5 separate regions of the Homo sapiens genome follow, and all the other regions are linked to region 1. Evidence: promoter capture Hi-C in 16 types of primary human blood cells and fetal thymus (Javierre and others, 2016). All regions are on one chromosome and are shown on one strand. The core of a region is centred on a gene start or on the middle of the fragment in contact, and the rest is flanking DNA. Distances in the headings are between cores, read along the strand shown.

The links. Contacts are between HindIII fragments. The CHiCAGO score rates a contact against its expected background, and 5 or more counts as called.
Region 2: a fragment that was not itself captured here is called in contact with the fragment with the promoter of MIR17HG in region 1 in 9 of 17 cell types (non-activated CD4 T cells, total CD4 T cells, naive CD8 T cells and 6 more); the score reaches 28.5 in non-activated CD4 T cells.
Region 3: a contact is called between a fragment that was not itself captured here and the fragment with the promoter of MIR17HG in region 1, in 6 of 17 cell types (total CD8 T cells, naive CD8 T cells, non-activated CD4 T cells and 3 more). The highest score is 21.2, in total CD8 T cells.
Region 4: a contact is called between a fragment that was not itself captured here and the fragment with the promoter of MIR17HG in region 1, in 1 of 17 cell types (naive CD8 T cells). The highest score is 5.6, in naive CD8 T cells.
Region 5: a fragment that was not itself captured here is called in contact with the fragment with the promoter of MIR17HG in region 1 in 2 of 17 cell types (naive B cells and total CD4 T cells); the score reaches 5.7 in naive B cells.

Annotation. Positions count from the first base shown.
Region 1 is chr13:91,346,210-91,348,986 of GRCh38, reverse strand. MIR17HG (miR-17-92a-1 cluster host gene) reads right to left here and starts at 1,300. Exons shown (of 3, transcript NR_197388.1): 1 at 1,028-1,300. RefSeq lists enhancers at 1-262, 1,732-1,811 and silencers at 1-801, 852-1,631. The HindIII fragment of the contact is 6,871 bases long and covers 1-2,777 here.
Region 2 is chr13:94,329,457-94,332,233 of GRCh38, reverse strand. All of the region lies in intron 6 of GPC6 (glypican 6), which reads right to left. Among named protein-coding and RNA genes, the nearest start is that of GPC6-AS1, 140 kb to the right of the region's middle. The HindIII fragment of the contact is 750 bases long and covers 1,015-1,764 here.
Region 3 is chr13:94,313,466-94,316,242 of GRCh38, reverse strand. All of the region lies in intron 6 of GPC6 (glypican 6), which reads right to left. Among named protein-coding and RNA genes, the nearest start is that of GPC6-AS1, 130 kb to the right of the region's middle. The HindIII fragment of the contact is 813 bases long and covers 1,006-1,818 here.
Region 4 is chr13:94,277,875-94,280,651 of GRCh38, reverse strand. All of the region lies in intron 4 of GPC6 (glypican 6), which reads right to left. Among named protein-coding and RNA genes, the nearest start is that of GPC6-AS1, 91 kb to the right of the region's middle. The HindIII fragment of the contact is 7,883 bases long and covers 1-2,777 here.
Region 5 is chr13:94,259,106-94,261,882 of GRCh38, reverse strand. The region is part of intron 4 of GPC6 (glypican 6); the gene reads right to left. Among named protein-coding and RNA genes, the nearest start is that of GPC6-AS1, 73 kb to the right of the region's middle. The HindIII fragment of the contact is 2,748 bases long and covers 1-2,726 here.

The DNA of each region.
Region 1 (2,777 bases), core at 51-2,550:
CGAGGCCCGAGTGCGGCGGGGACGCGGGCGCGCCGCCCCTCCTTTGTGTCCCCCAGCCCCCCCGAGCCCGGCCCAGAGGGGCGGGGGCTCCGCGGCCGCGGTGCCCGTCGCACGCGGCCCGAGGCCTAAGCCGGGAACAATCGGCGGCGGCGCGCAGTCGCCGCCATGTCCCCCGCCCTCACCCCCGTGCAGCCCGCCCCGCAGGAACATGGCGGCGGGGACGCCGCTCCCGCCGAGCCGGGCTGGCCCTCCCGCGCCACACTCCCAGCAAGCGGCCGGGCGCAGGCGGCTCCACGCCGCGGCTGAGGCCGACTGCGGCCTCCTCCGAGGGCCACGGCGGGGAAGTTGCGGGCCCCGCCCCGAGGCTGCCCACGCGGGCTAACAAAGCCCACGCGGAGCGGGGGTGGCGCCCAGGCCGCGCCGATCTCGGCGCCCCTCCGCCCACCCTCGCGCGTACAAAGTTTGGGGAACCGCGGGCTCCCGCCCACGCCACGCCGCCCGCTGGCGCGCAGGTACCTCGTGGGCGCGCCCCCTCCCGGCCCGCGGCCTGCCCCATGTGCCGCCGCCGCCGCCGCTTTGTTCTGGAGGCGCTTTAACTCTCGCCCTCGGGAGAAACTTTCCTACCCAGAGACCCCACGCCCCGCGCGCGCCCCGGGCCCCGGAGAAGGCACGGGCCTCGCACGTCCTCTCCCCGAGGGGCCATTGTGTTCGCCGTCCGCCCACCCGCCTTCGGGTCGGCCCAGGCAGGGTCTGCGCGGGTCCCGGGCGCGGCCGCCACGCGCACGCCGCCCCCTCCCACCCTCCCGCCCCGGCCCTGCCCCCCTCCGCCGGCCCGCGGGCGAGCGAGGGGGCAGCCAGATGCGGCTGCCACACGCCGGGGCGGCCAACGGCCGAGACCCGCCCCGGCCACGCCGCCGCCGCCACGCTGCCCCGGGCCAGTCCGCCCCGGGCCGCTCCGCCCCGCCCGCCAGACCCGGGCCGCACACAACAGGTTTCCCTCCGTCGCCGGAGGGGCGGGCAGACTCACCAGGAGGAGTAGCCGCCACCATCTTCGGCTGGCCGGCCGCGGGCTCCTGCTCCCGCCTCCCCGCCCGCCTGCGCTTTACTACGACCGGAGGCCCCAGGCCGGGGGTGCGGCCGGCCGGCCCGCCCCGCGAGGAGAGCTTCGCGGAGGAGCGCGAGCCCCGGCGGCGCTGCGGTAGTCGTCCCCACCCCCTCGGCCTCGCCCGAGGGCGCGAAGTGGCGCGAAGGCGCAGGTCGGGCGGCGGCGGCGGCACCTCGAAGGACCATGTGGGTGAATGAAGGGCGGCGGCTCCCGCCTCAACGTAAATACGGACAAGCCCCACTCCCTCATTAGCATAAAAAACAAAGTACTTCCGACCTCCCCGCCCGCCCGCCAATCACCGCAGGCCCCGCCCACGGCGGCTCGTTCTTGGCGGCCGGGAGAGCGGGAGCCGGGAGCCGCTGGCGGCGCCGCGCAGCCTTCCCCGGGCCGCGCTCCCCCGTGGCCCGCCCACCGCCGCCAGCCTCGCGGAGCGCCTCGCCCGAACACCTCGCGCCACGCCTCCGGCACGCCCTCCGTTAACAAGCTCTGCGCGCGTGCAGACCCCCGCGCGCCGCACACCCTCCTGGAAGCGCACGCTTCCCGGGGCTTCCTGGGAGCCCTGCTCTCCCTGGGACTCGACGTGTACGCTGTGCGATCACAGTTTATTACTTTACCGGCCCTTGGTGGGTTTCCGAGGTAATTAGGGGCCTGCTCCAGGCCAACCGGAACCAGAGAAGTAAAATCCAGTGACTTTAACATCGAAACAGAATTACTCGCTGCAAAGATCGTTTGAGACCCAGAAATAAATACATTACACCCGACACTCTTGTGAATGCACACTTCGTGGCAATGTGTTTCCTTAACCTGGCCGCGTGTAAACCAAAACGCATGCCCGAGCAGAGGTTTCACAGCTGCAGTACCTGAGCCTCCCCTCTCATGCCCAGCTGCATTTAGTAAGAACTCTGGGTTCTCCAGTAGAAATAGCATAGCTCGGAAAGAACCTCATAAACAACCACAAAGCTGAGAAAAGAAGCCCAATCAGGAGCACCTCCTTCTTCACATTGTGGTTCAGGAAATTCCGGAATTCTCAGAAACATAATTGTTAAAAGTGAGGATTCATAACATTTACGAGAAATACAGCAATTATAAATTGGTTTAAATCTAGTAAGTAGCTACTGCAAAGCACATATCACTGGTTCGTGATTGTACAAGTCAACTGTAAAACACACATTACCAAAGGATGTCTTTAATGCCCCAATGTTAAAATTTTTGACATTCAAACCTTGACAGTATTGTCATTTACTGTCTTTGACTTATTTTATCATGCTTTGCTTAAATCCAATTGTCAAACTAGTGATGACATAAAAAATAGTGGATTAAAGTTTTGCTACTCTTTTTTTTATTGAGTCTAGTTTCTAGATATTCCTTTCTTTGTAAATCAAAATAAAAGGCCAAATCTGAAATTTTACAATATCTAATATTTCTGTAATATAGTCATTTATGAACGTTTCAAAGAGGAAAACACTGCTAATTTTATTACAAGTCTAATTTTACGTTACTTTTGGTCGGCATTGACTAATATGTCAATGCCTTTTTCTTTAAAACTTTATCTTCTGTTTCAAATTAGAATGGTTGAGGCGGGGGGATGTTGTGAGTAAGATTGTTCATCACACTCTCTGAATCATGGGAAATCCCACCTATATACAGGTTTCTTAGCAGGAGTTATTCATCT
Region 2 (2,777 bases), core at 140-2,639, 3.0 Mb before region 1:
TCATAAGCACTTATTGGAAGAAACCAAAGCCAAAAAAGGATGAGAAAAGGGGCCCAAAAGAATTATAAAAGAAAAAATTAAATTTTTGAATATCGGGTAATAGTCAAAGGAATGTCCAGTTTCTAGAACCTGTTCGGGGAGATTCTTCCAGCCTGCTCTTATCCACCTCTCCCTTCTTTAATTCCTGTTGCACAAAGCATTACTGCCTCATAGTTTGCAATGACTGAGACTCAGATGGAGAACAGAAATAAAATCTTACATGACTTTAGATTTCTCCATCGCTTATTGACGAGAAGAAAAAAAGAGAGAGAAGAGCACATGTTTTTAGTTGACGAACTCTTTGATATAATCCAAAATTGGCTTAATATCTATATTCCAATGCTTAAAACTTTCCCTGAGGAAGAAATCTCTTGCTTGAAAAAGACTGGTACCCAAATTAATTCACCTTTTACTTTTCCTAAGTAGTGATCCTTGCTTTCCATCTTGCCTAAAAATCTTTGTATTCCCAGGTTTAACTCAGAATTTTCATACTAGGATCCTTTCTCATACTATTTGGAAATGCATGAATTTATGAAGGGTCCATTTTAGGTGGACACTCAAGCAATACTTCCAACAACTTGACAGACAAATGCTGCTGTCCGTGGACAAGGATGAACCTCTCTTTGTTCTTATTTGTGGCTACAATGCAGATAGATCAGTTCTGGGCCCTCTGCCTGACTCCATGTAACCACACAGCTGCTTAAAATCTGCTTGGGATTAGGGGTGTACACTGGGCTATGGAACCAACTAAAAATATGGGCCCAGATGGTCAGCAATCACTCAACCCTGGCCTCATTTAGGGGTTGCTGTAAATCAGGGACGGGCAAACTTCCTCTCTGAAAGGATAGGTAGTATTATTTTAGGCTTTGCAGACCATAGGGTCTCTATCGAGATGACTAAGTGCTGCTATTGTACTGTCAGTACAGCATTAGACAATATCTAAATGAATGAGCAGGGCTGTGTTCCAATAAAGCTTTATTTATTAAAATAGGTGGCTCGGCCCGTAGGTCATAGTTTGCTGATTGCTGCAAAGAAACTTGTCTGACTAGCTGACCCCAACTCTGGTTTACCTATTGTACTAGTCCCCATCCTAAAAATCACTGCATACAGTTTCTTAAATCTGCCAGTTAGAGTTGATGTAGCACCCTCCAAATCAATCTAAAATGTGATAGAAAAAGGAGGCAAATTTTTTTATTAAATATTTGGAGGGAGGCCCAATTTCTGAGATCAGAGGAAGATACTAAACTCGTAGAACAGTCTTATATGGTTATATCAATGTAACAATCAGCCTCTTAAGAAAACCACATAAAAGGACAGCAATCAACCCAACAAACCCACTAGATCTCGTATCCAGAGCTTTTTGAAATAGGCTAAGGTCTCAAGAGATATATAGGTGAATATGCAGTTTCTCCTCTGTACCTTTTTGAGATTACACAGGGAAAAACATGGAGCACAGAGCTCATTGCATATTGACTATTATCATCCACCTTTAACAGACAAGGATTTGAGCTGTGCTTCTCTTAGCATGATGTACCTACGAATCACCTGGGATCTTGTTGAAATGCAGGTTCTGATGCTGCAGGCCTGGGGTAGGACCTGTGATTCTTCATTTTTTTAACAGGTGATACTGATGCTGCCAGTTTAGGAATCACATTTTGATAAACAAGGACTTGGGGAAGTGGCTAGCAACCTTGGCTGCACCCCAAGGACATGCTTTAGGAAGCTTTCCAAATACAGATGCTGGGTCAGTCCCAAGCCAAACAGATCAACATCTCTAAATACGAGGCCCAGGCATCAGTATTTAATGTTTCCCAGGTAATTTTCATGTACAGTCAAGACTGAGAGTTCCTGAGTTAGAGGCTCAGAGAAATTAACTGACTCGCCCAAGGTCACTTGGCCAGTGGCCAAACAGACTTTAAACGGTAAAAATTTTGCTGGCCCCAGGATCTTTGAAAATGATCCTAAAAATTATTACTAGGCAGGCATAACATAGGCAAGGGTTGCATCGTTTCCATAAGAATTGCTAATGTGAGAGAGAGAAGAAGAGGAAAGGTGGGATTAAACTTATGCAGGGAGTTATCAGTCCTGATCGAGGGAACACAGAGAAAGCAGGCAGCACAGTTGCTCTGTTCCAGTGTGAAATTCCCTTTCAAGGATCACTATTTCTTCATGAAAGCAACATGGTAGGAGCCTCTCAGAAGGCATATTCAAGTTCAGCAATGCGCAGTACCTTCAGCTCCTTTGATGAATCACTACATGATGAAACTTTAGAGGCTGAGTAATCACATTTGGCTTCGTTTCTGCCTCTTGGGAGGTTCAAAAAGTCATGTTTATGGGAAAGGGTAAAATTTCTGACCCAGGGATTTTTTTTTTGTCCCAAATAGGACCAAGGTAAGAGAAGAGGAGGAGGAGGAGTAGGAGGAAGGAGGAGGAGGAAGAGGAGGAGGAGAAGTAAAGCAATATTGGGAAATTATCAGACAACCCAAGATTTTCTGAATCTCCTAAACCCATTCAATCCCATGTTGTGAATGGAGGTCCATTTTCATCTGGAAAAACATGAATTTCAATTACATTTACACAATTGTTCAACCACAGTTTTCAAGATCAGATGCATTTTCTCACTGTCTGCAGATCCTGTGGAGAATAAACCTCCCCCCTGGGATGAAGACCTTGGCTGTGTAATTTGGGACATGCTACCTCAAAGGGAAAATGAAAGCGTGATTCTCTTCTGAGGGAGG
Region 3 (2,777 bases), core at 163-2,662, 3.0 Mb before region 1:
GTAGGACAATGTAGATACCCCCTCTCTAATAAGAACTTAGATTTCTCCTAGGATTCTAAATTTTTTTTTTTAAGTTAGTTCTTTCAAAAGACCATAGAAGAGTTGGTTCATTTGCAGGGCAATCTTTACAAGAGCATGGTCTGATTTAAATTATAATTATTTTTGCCTGTCATCCTCTAAAGTGGGGGTGTCCAATCTTTTGGCTTCCCTGGGCCGTTTTTTGGAAGAAGAGGAATTGTCTTGGGACACACATAAGATATACTAACACTAAAGATGGCTGATGAGCTAAAAAAAAATCTCATAATGTTTTCAGGATGTTTACGAATTTGTGTTGGGCCGCATTCAAAGCCATCCTGGGCCACATGCAGGCCATGGGCTGTGGGTTGGACAAGTTTGCCCTAAAGTGTTGTGAGTTCTTCGATTATGGTCTAGTCACCTACGCATGGTTCATGTTAGTGCACAATAAATATGGTGAATAAAGGAAAGACTGATTTTTCTGTTCCTTTTCATGTAAGGTTTGTCTTAGGGTTGGAGAAAGTAATGACATGGATTTTTATCAATTTAAAAATCTTGCCTTCATCATAGTGTTTGTGGTCGATAATGTTACTGTTCACTAACATGTCCTTTTTCTCTCTCTATGTGAGGCACATAGGAACATATGTCCCTGACTTCCTGATGGCTTGATAATGTGACTTGCTTTGGCCAATGAGATGTGATCAGTATGATGTGACCCTTCCAGGTAGAGACATGAACAGCCACCTTTGCCACATTCTCCATTTCCCCTGCCATTGTGACAGGTGAACCTCCAGATAATGGCTGCTCTGTCACCCCGGATGCTGGAGTAAGGGTGATGACCACATGTAGCTGACTCACAGCCAATGCATAATGAACACTTGGCACATACAAGAAATAAACTTGTGTTGTTGTGGGCCATTTTGGGGACTGTTTATAGGTGTGGCCTTGCCTGGCCTGGTCCATCTGGATCAATACAGCATAGGAAAAGCTTCTACAGAGATCACACAAACCAACTTCCAACAAATTATTTGTTAGTAAGCAATATAATGGAGCTGCTGCTGGTGGTGGTTCATTCATTGACTATCAACCTGACTTTTTATTTTTCGATAGCTCAGCCAGTGTTATGGGTATAAGAAAATACCCATGAAGTCAGAGCCTTTGATGATAATGACTGTGAATGAACTTAGTAATAAAGTTATTGTGTATTGCAAATAGCTTTCTACCTTTAACAGTTATGAAGGGAAGTCAATTTTCACTCAGATGGGTTCCTTTTCATCTGTTTTTTCTCTACAATGTTTATGTCTGAGGTTTATTGCTAGCAGTAAAGAGTGTCCGAGTATGTTATGGGAATAGCCAAATTCCCAGTCCTTTAAAATGTATTCCATAGGCCCCAGAGTCTGTTAGAAGCTGATTGATTATACAGCAAATACATCAAAACTGGTATTTATGAAATATCCTATTTCTTCAGCTCTATCTCTCATAAGCATGAACATCACATTTGGGAGTTGTGGTGCAAATATCTCAGACAGCTAAGAGAAAATATTGTCGCAGATTTTCCATGACAAGGAAAAGGTTCTTTAATCTATTCAATAATTTAATAAAAGATCTATGTCAACTGATGAGGCTCATGAACAAATATTTTTAAAGGTATGGTTTGAGCAGTTTAGTGTGGCTTGTCTATCCAGACTTCCATAATCAATCTACCAAAACACCAATTACATAGCAGAATAAAGGACAGTTACCGTGAAACGAGTGCGCAGATGGACTTTTGCATCTGACTGGTTCATAACTGACAACAAAGCTTCTGTTTAATTTGTTCAAGGTTTGGGCAGAAAGTTCTGGCTTAAGAAGGGAAAATGAGCTATTAGACATGGCCTATATTAAGGACGCTACAGATGTTTAATGTTTTTAATTTGCATATTTGGCCAATGATTATTCATTTGTTAATATGCCTTCTACATATTCTTTTTTGGCATAGTCAATCTGAGATTGCAAAATCAAACTCCCACTTATTGTATGCTAATATTAATATTCCATGAGCCTCTATACTATGTACTGTTCTCTGGAGAAGACATAGCATGTCTAACTGACTTGGAAAGTAACGGCTTTTCTAAACAGTCACTTGCCTTTTGATGACGCCAGCACTAACAACATGCTATAATGTAGATTGTACATAGCAGCTAGTTTTACTAAGTGCTATGCAACAGAGAATAACTCAATCAATAATTTATTGATAGATTGATATCTACCGAATGCATCAATTTGGGTTTAGCTGAAGTCTAGGAATTCTGAAAGAAATTTTAAAGCCTGAAGCAGAAAATAAGCATATCAACATGCCATAAAATAGATATAAAATCTCTAATAGCCCTATTTTGGCTCTGAAAGTGTAACATTTCATTTTTTATGATACAGAGGTCACCAAAGCTCTTGCTTAAGTGTTTCTGAGGATAAAGGAGAGTTTAATCCAGAGTTGAAAAGAGTTTTGTTAACAAATCGCCCCCAATATGATTTAATATAACTCACACTTAATATTAAGTTGTGCAAAATTGTTCCCCTTCCAAAACATGTTGCATAACATTATTTCGTTGTCAGAATCCATATGATTCTCTGAACATGTCTTAAAGCAGTGATGTGGACTGGGCTTTAGTATCTCCCAGGGAGTTACGTAGCCAGAGTGAGTGTACTCTTCCTTCTCCCCAGGGTATACAGCCCTGTGCAATTAAACACAACTTTGCCAGGACTGAAAGAGAGGTCTATGTGCC
Region 4 (2,777 bases), core at 130-2,629, 2.9 Mb before region 1:
CACTCATTGGCCCCCAGTTATTCATTAAAAGAAAAAGAAAAAGAAAAACATGGCTGCAGTGTTTATGTATAGGCTGATTAATGCCCATGGCATGAATGTAACTAGGGGCACTGCTGTCTCCTGTGGAGTGCTGGAGACAGGCACGCTGAATATACATGTCCTTTGCTTTCACCCAAATCGATGAATTAAAATGCTTGTGAGATCTTGGGCTGGAATGTGTTTCAGGAGAGGCTGGAAAGAGAGCACAGCTAGAGGGGACTGAGGAGTACATAAGCCAGGATCTGAATGACCCGGAAAGAGGGCCAATTTAGGACTAGAAATTACCCAGGCAGAAGGTCCCAGCCCTTTTAGGAGCATTAAAACATTTTTATTTCTGATTTTAAAAATTATCTCTGGCCCAGTCTCTGAAAAAACAGGCTTTAAACCAACAAAGATCAAAAAAGGCAAAGAAGTGCATTACATAATGGTAAAGGGATCAATTCAAAAAGAAGAGCTATCTATCCTAAATATAAATGCACCTAATCAAAGAGCACCCAGATTTATAAAACAAGTTCTTAGAGACCTACAAAGAAACTTAGACTCTCACACAATAATAGTGGGAGACTTTAACACCCCAGTCAATATTAGACAGATCAATGAGATAGAAAATTAACAAGGATATTCAGGACTTGAACTCAGCTCTGGATCAAGTGGACCTAATAGACATCTACAGAACTCTTCACCCCAAATCAACAGAGTATACATTCTTCTCAGTGCCACATGACACTTGCTCTAAAATTGATCACATAATTGGAAGTAAAACACTCCTCAGCAAATGCAAAGGAACTGAAATCATTAACAAATAGTCTCTCAGACCACAGTGCCATCAAATTAGAACTCAGGATTAACTAACTCACTCAAAACCACACAATTACATGGAAATGGAACAACCTGCTCCTGAGTGACTCCTGGGTAAATAATGAAATTAAGGCAGAAATCAAGAAGTTCTTTGAAACCAATAGAATAAACAGACAGCATACGAGAATCTCTGGGACACACCTAAAGCAGTGTTAAGAGGGAAATTTATAGTACTAAATGCCCACATCAGAAAGCTAGAAAGATCTCAGATCGATACCCTAACATCACAATTAAAATAACTAGAGAAGCAAGAGCAAACTAATCCAAAAGCTAGGAGAAGGCAAGAAATAACTAAGATCGGGGCAGAATTGAAGGAGATAAAGACACAAAAATCCTTCCAACAAATCAACGAATCCAGGAGCTGTTTTTTTTTTTTTTGAAAAAGATCAACAAAATAGATAGACTGCTAGCTAGGCTAACTAAAAAGGAAAGAGAAGAATAAAATAGACACAATAAAAAATGATAAAGGGGATATCACCACTGACCCCACAGAAATACAAACTACCATCAGAGAATAATATAAACACCTCTATGCAAATAAATTAGAAAATATAAAAGAAATGGATAACTTCCTGGACACATACACCCTCCCAAGACTAAACCAGGAAGAAGTTGAATCCCTGAATAAACCAATAACAAGTTCTGAAATTGAGGCAGTAATTAATAGCCTACCAACCAAAAAAAGCCCAGGACCAGACAGATTCACAGCCGAATTCTACCAGAGGTACAAAGAGGATCTGGTACCATTCTTTCTGAAACTACCCCAAACAATTGAAAAGGAGGGACTCCTCCCTAACTCATTTTATGAAGCCAGCATCATACTGATACCAAAATCTGGCAGAAACATAACAAAAAAAGAAAACTTCAGGCCAATATCCCTGATGAACATCGATGTGAAAATCCTCAATAAAATACTGGCAAAGTGAATTCAGTAGCACATCAAAAACCACATCCACCACAATCAAGTCAGCTTCATCCCTGGGATGCAAGGCTGGCTCAACATATACAAATCAATATATGTAATCCATCACATAAATAGAACCAAAGGCAAAAACCACATGACTATCTCAATAAATGTAGAAAAAGCCTTTGATAAAATTCAACATCCCTTCATGTTAAAAACTCTCAATAAGCTAGGTATTGATGGAACATATCTCAAAATAACAAGAGCTATTTATGACAAACCCATAGCCAATATCATATTGAATGGGCAAACGTTGGAAGCATTCCCTTTGAAAACCGGTACAAGACAAGGATGCCCTCTCTCATCACTCATATTCAACATAGTATCAGAAGCTCTGGCCAGGGCAATTAGGCAGGAGAAAGAAATAAACATACTCAAATAGAAAGAGAGGAAGTCAAATTGTCTCTGTTTGCAGAAGACATGATTCTATACTTAGAAAAGCCCATCATCTCAGCCCAAAAACTCCTTAAGCTGATAAGCAACTTGAGCAAAGTCTCAGGACACAAAATCAATGTGAAAAGATCACAAACATTCCTTTATACCAACAATAGACAAGCAGAGTGCCAAATCATAAATGAACTCCCATTGACAATTGCTACAAAGAGAATAAAATACTTAGGAATACAACTAACAAGGGATGTGAAGGACCGCGTCAAGGAGAACTACAAACCACTGCTCAAGGAAATAAGATAGGACACAAACAAATGGAAAAACATTCCATCCTCATGGATAGGAAGAACCAATATCATGAAAATGGCCATACTGCCCACAGTAATTTATAGATTCACTGCTATTCCCATCAAACTGCCATTGACATTCTTCACAAAATTAGGAAAAACTACTTTAAATTACATATGGAATCAAAGAAGACCCATCCAAGACAAAGAACAAGAACAGCCAAGACAAAGAACAAAGC
Region 5 (2,777 bases), core at 103-2,602, 2.9 Mb before region 1:
CCAGGTCTTGTTTGTCTCCCAATAATTTCTTAATTCATATTCATCTGGTTTTGGCCACAAACTGCTCTCACTAAAGTACCAACAACTGATTAACTGCCAGTGTCTGTCCTCTCTGTCACACTGGACGCTACTGACTTGTGCTTCACATTCTTCTGTGTGTCATGATGGGGCTCTATGTCTCTGTCTCCTCCTGCCCATCTCTGGTCACTTCTTGTTTATTTGTTCATTAGTTATTAACTATTAGTGTGCTCATTTCTTAAGCATTAGCTCCTCCAGGGTATAGGCCTGAGCCCTCTGTATATACCCTCTGGGTAGTTTCACCCATACCCATTAATCCATTTTTCATTGTGATTTTTAAAAATTTCTATTTCTACTGACCTCACACGTAAACACTAAATCCTTATTTATAGGTAACCAACTAGTAGACAGTCCCCCTCAAATGTCTTGTATTTGTCAATTATGACCTGTGCAAAAGAGAACATAGCACTTGCTCTTCCTGCTGAACCCATTCTTCAAATAGCTTCCTCTTTTTCAAGAACAGTGTCATACCCTGTTGCCCAAACCATTAACAAATGCTCTTTCCTTTTCCTTATTATTATTGCATTTTTGAGACAGAGTTTCACTCTTTTGCTGAGGCTGGAGTGAAGTGGCGTGGTCTTGGCTTACTGCAACCTCCGCCCCCTGGGTTCAAGTGATTCTTCTGCCTCAGCCTCCCAAGGCAGCTGGGATTATAGGCGCCCACCACCACGCCTGGCTAATTTTTGTATTTTTAGTAGACATGGGGTTTCACCATGTAGGCCAGGCTGGTTTCGAACTCCTGACCTCAAGTGATCCACCCACCTTGGCCTCCCAAAGTGCTAGGATTACAGACATGAGCCACTGTGCCCGGCGCCTTTTCCTTATTTTCATAATCAATCTAACACTAAGGTGTTGCTTTCCAAACTTTTTTCCCATACACCCACTATTTTAGTTCTAGCCTGAATCATATGATGATATCTGAACAATAATCATAACCCTCCAACTTGTTTCTAGTGTTCCGCCCTTCCTCCCTTCAACCCAGCCTCCACCATGCTCCCGACTGATAGGTAGAAAACTCAGATCTGATCTGACCCCTTCTCTTCAGTCAATCATTTAGATTGCTGGCAACTCCTTCAAAAGATCAGTAGTCACCAGGCCCTATGATGTGGCTGTGGGCTCTTTTCTCCCTGCAGATTCATATGCTGAAGTCCTAACTTCCAGCACCTCAGAATATGGTTATATTAGGAGATAGAGTCTTCAAAGGGCTGATTAAAGTAAAATGTGGTCATATGGATGGGCCCTAATCCATTATAACTGATGTCCTTATAAGAAGAAGAGATTAGGATGCAGACACACAGAGAAGGAAGACCACAGAAAGACACAGGGAGAAGATGGCCAAGTATAATCCAAGGTTGGTTTCAGAAGAAACTAACCCTACTGACACCTTGATCTTGGACTTGCAGACTCCAGAACTGTGAGAAAATAAATTTCTGTTGTTTAAGCCACTCCAGTCTGTGGTACTTTGATATGGCAGCCCTAGCAAACTGATATACATACTACTCTTAACTGATCTTCAAAGCACAGCTTGCATACTTCTGAATCCTCAGGCTGAGCTAGGAATCCCTTTTTTGAGCTCTGCCTCTGTGTTCTAACAATAACAAACAAAACAGCAATAAAGACCAGACCATGGCAGCAGGTGTCACTTCTGAAGCACCTGTGATGTGCTCTATATTCAGTACTTTACAGATGCTTTATCACTTATAAAACATCTGCAACAGGTTAAGAACATCCCGTTTGTCCCTAAGTTTCAGTGAGATTAAAGATAGTACTAAAAAAAGGGACTTAAGTAGATACTATATACCCATGTACACCATAACATCATTCACAATAGCCAAAAAGTAGAACACAAAGTCTATTGGTAGATTAATGATAAACAAAATATCGTGTGCGTGTGTGTGTGTATGTGTGTGTGTGCATGTGTGTATACACACAATAGAGTATTATTATTCAACCATAAAAATCATAAGATTATGACACATGCTAGAATATGAATGAACCTTGAGAACATTTTGCTAAGTGAAATAAGCAGGACACAAAAGGACAAATACTATGTGATTCCAGTTATGTGAGGTAATTAGAATAGGCAGATTCATAGAGATAGGAAATAGAGTGGCCATTGCCAGGTACCAAAAGGAAGGGGAACAGGGAAATGGGGAATTATTTTTAATGGGCACGGAGTTTCTGTTGGGACAATGAAAAATTCTGGAATTGGATAGGGGTGGTTTACACAACATAGTGAGTATTCTTAATGCCACTGAATCATACACCCAAAAAATCGTTAAAATATTTTTGAAAAGTACAATGAAAGCTAGCTTTTAAAAAAAGATAGTGCTAAACCAACCAATGCTAGCATGTAAGCAGCCCAGCCTAGAGTTGTCTAACTGGATCACCTTAGAGACTACCAGCCCACTCAATAATCATTTCCCCCATCTTTCATGTTAATGGAACCCTAATTTGTTCCAATAACCAAATACACTTCAGCCCAGATAAATTCTGGTTAGTCTAACCCTATCATGGAAATCTCATTCTCCTTGTTGGTTATTGGTTTAGGGGCAGGCTTGTAGCTGTCTGGCCAATGACACATAAAGTAATGTTTGCTCGGGGCTTCTGGGAAGGTTTCCAGTGTGGCAGGGGCTTTGGGGAAAGCTTCCAATGAGAAGGGGGCTTCTGGGAAAGGTTTCCAGTGAGAAAGGGATTTC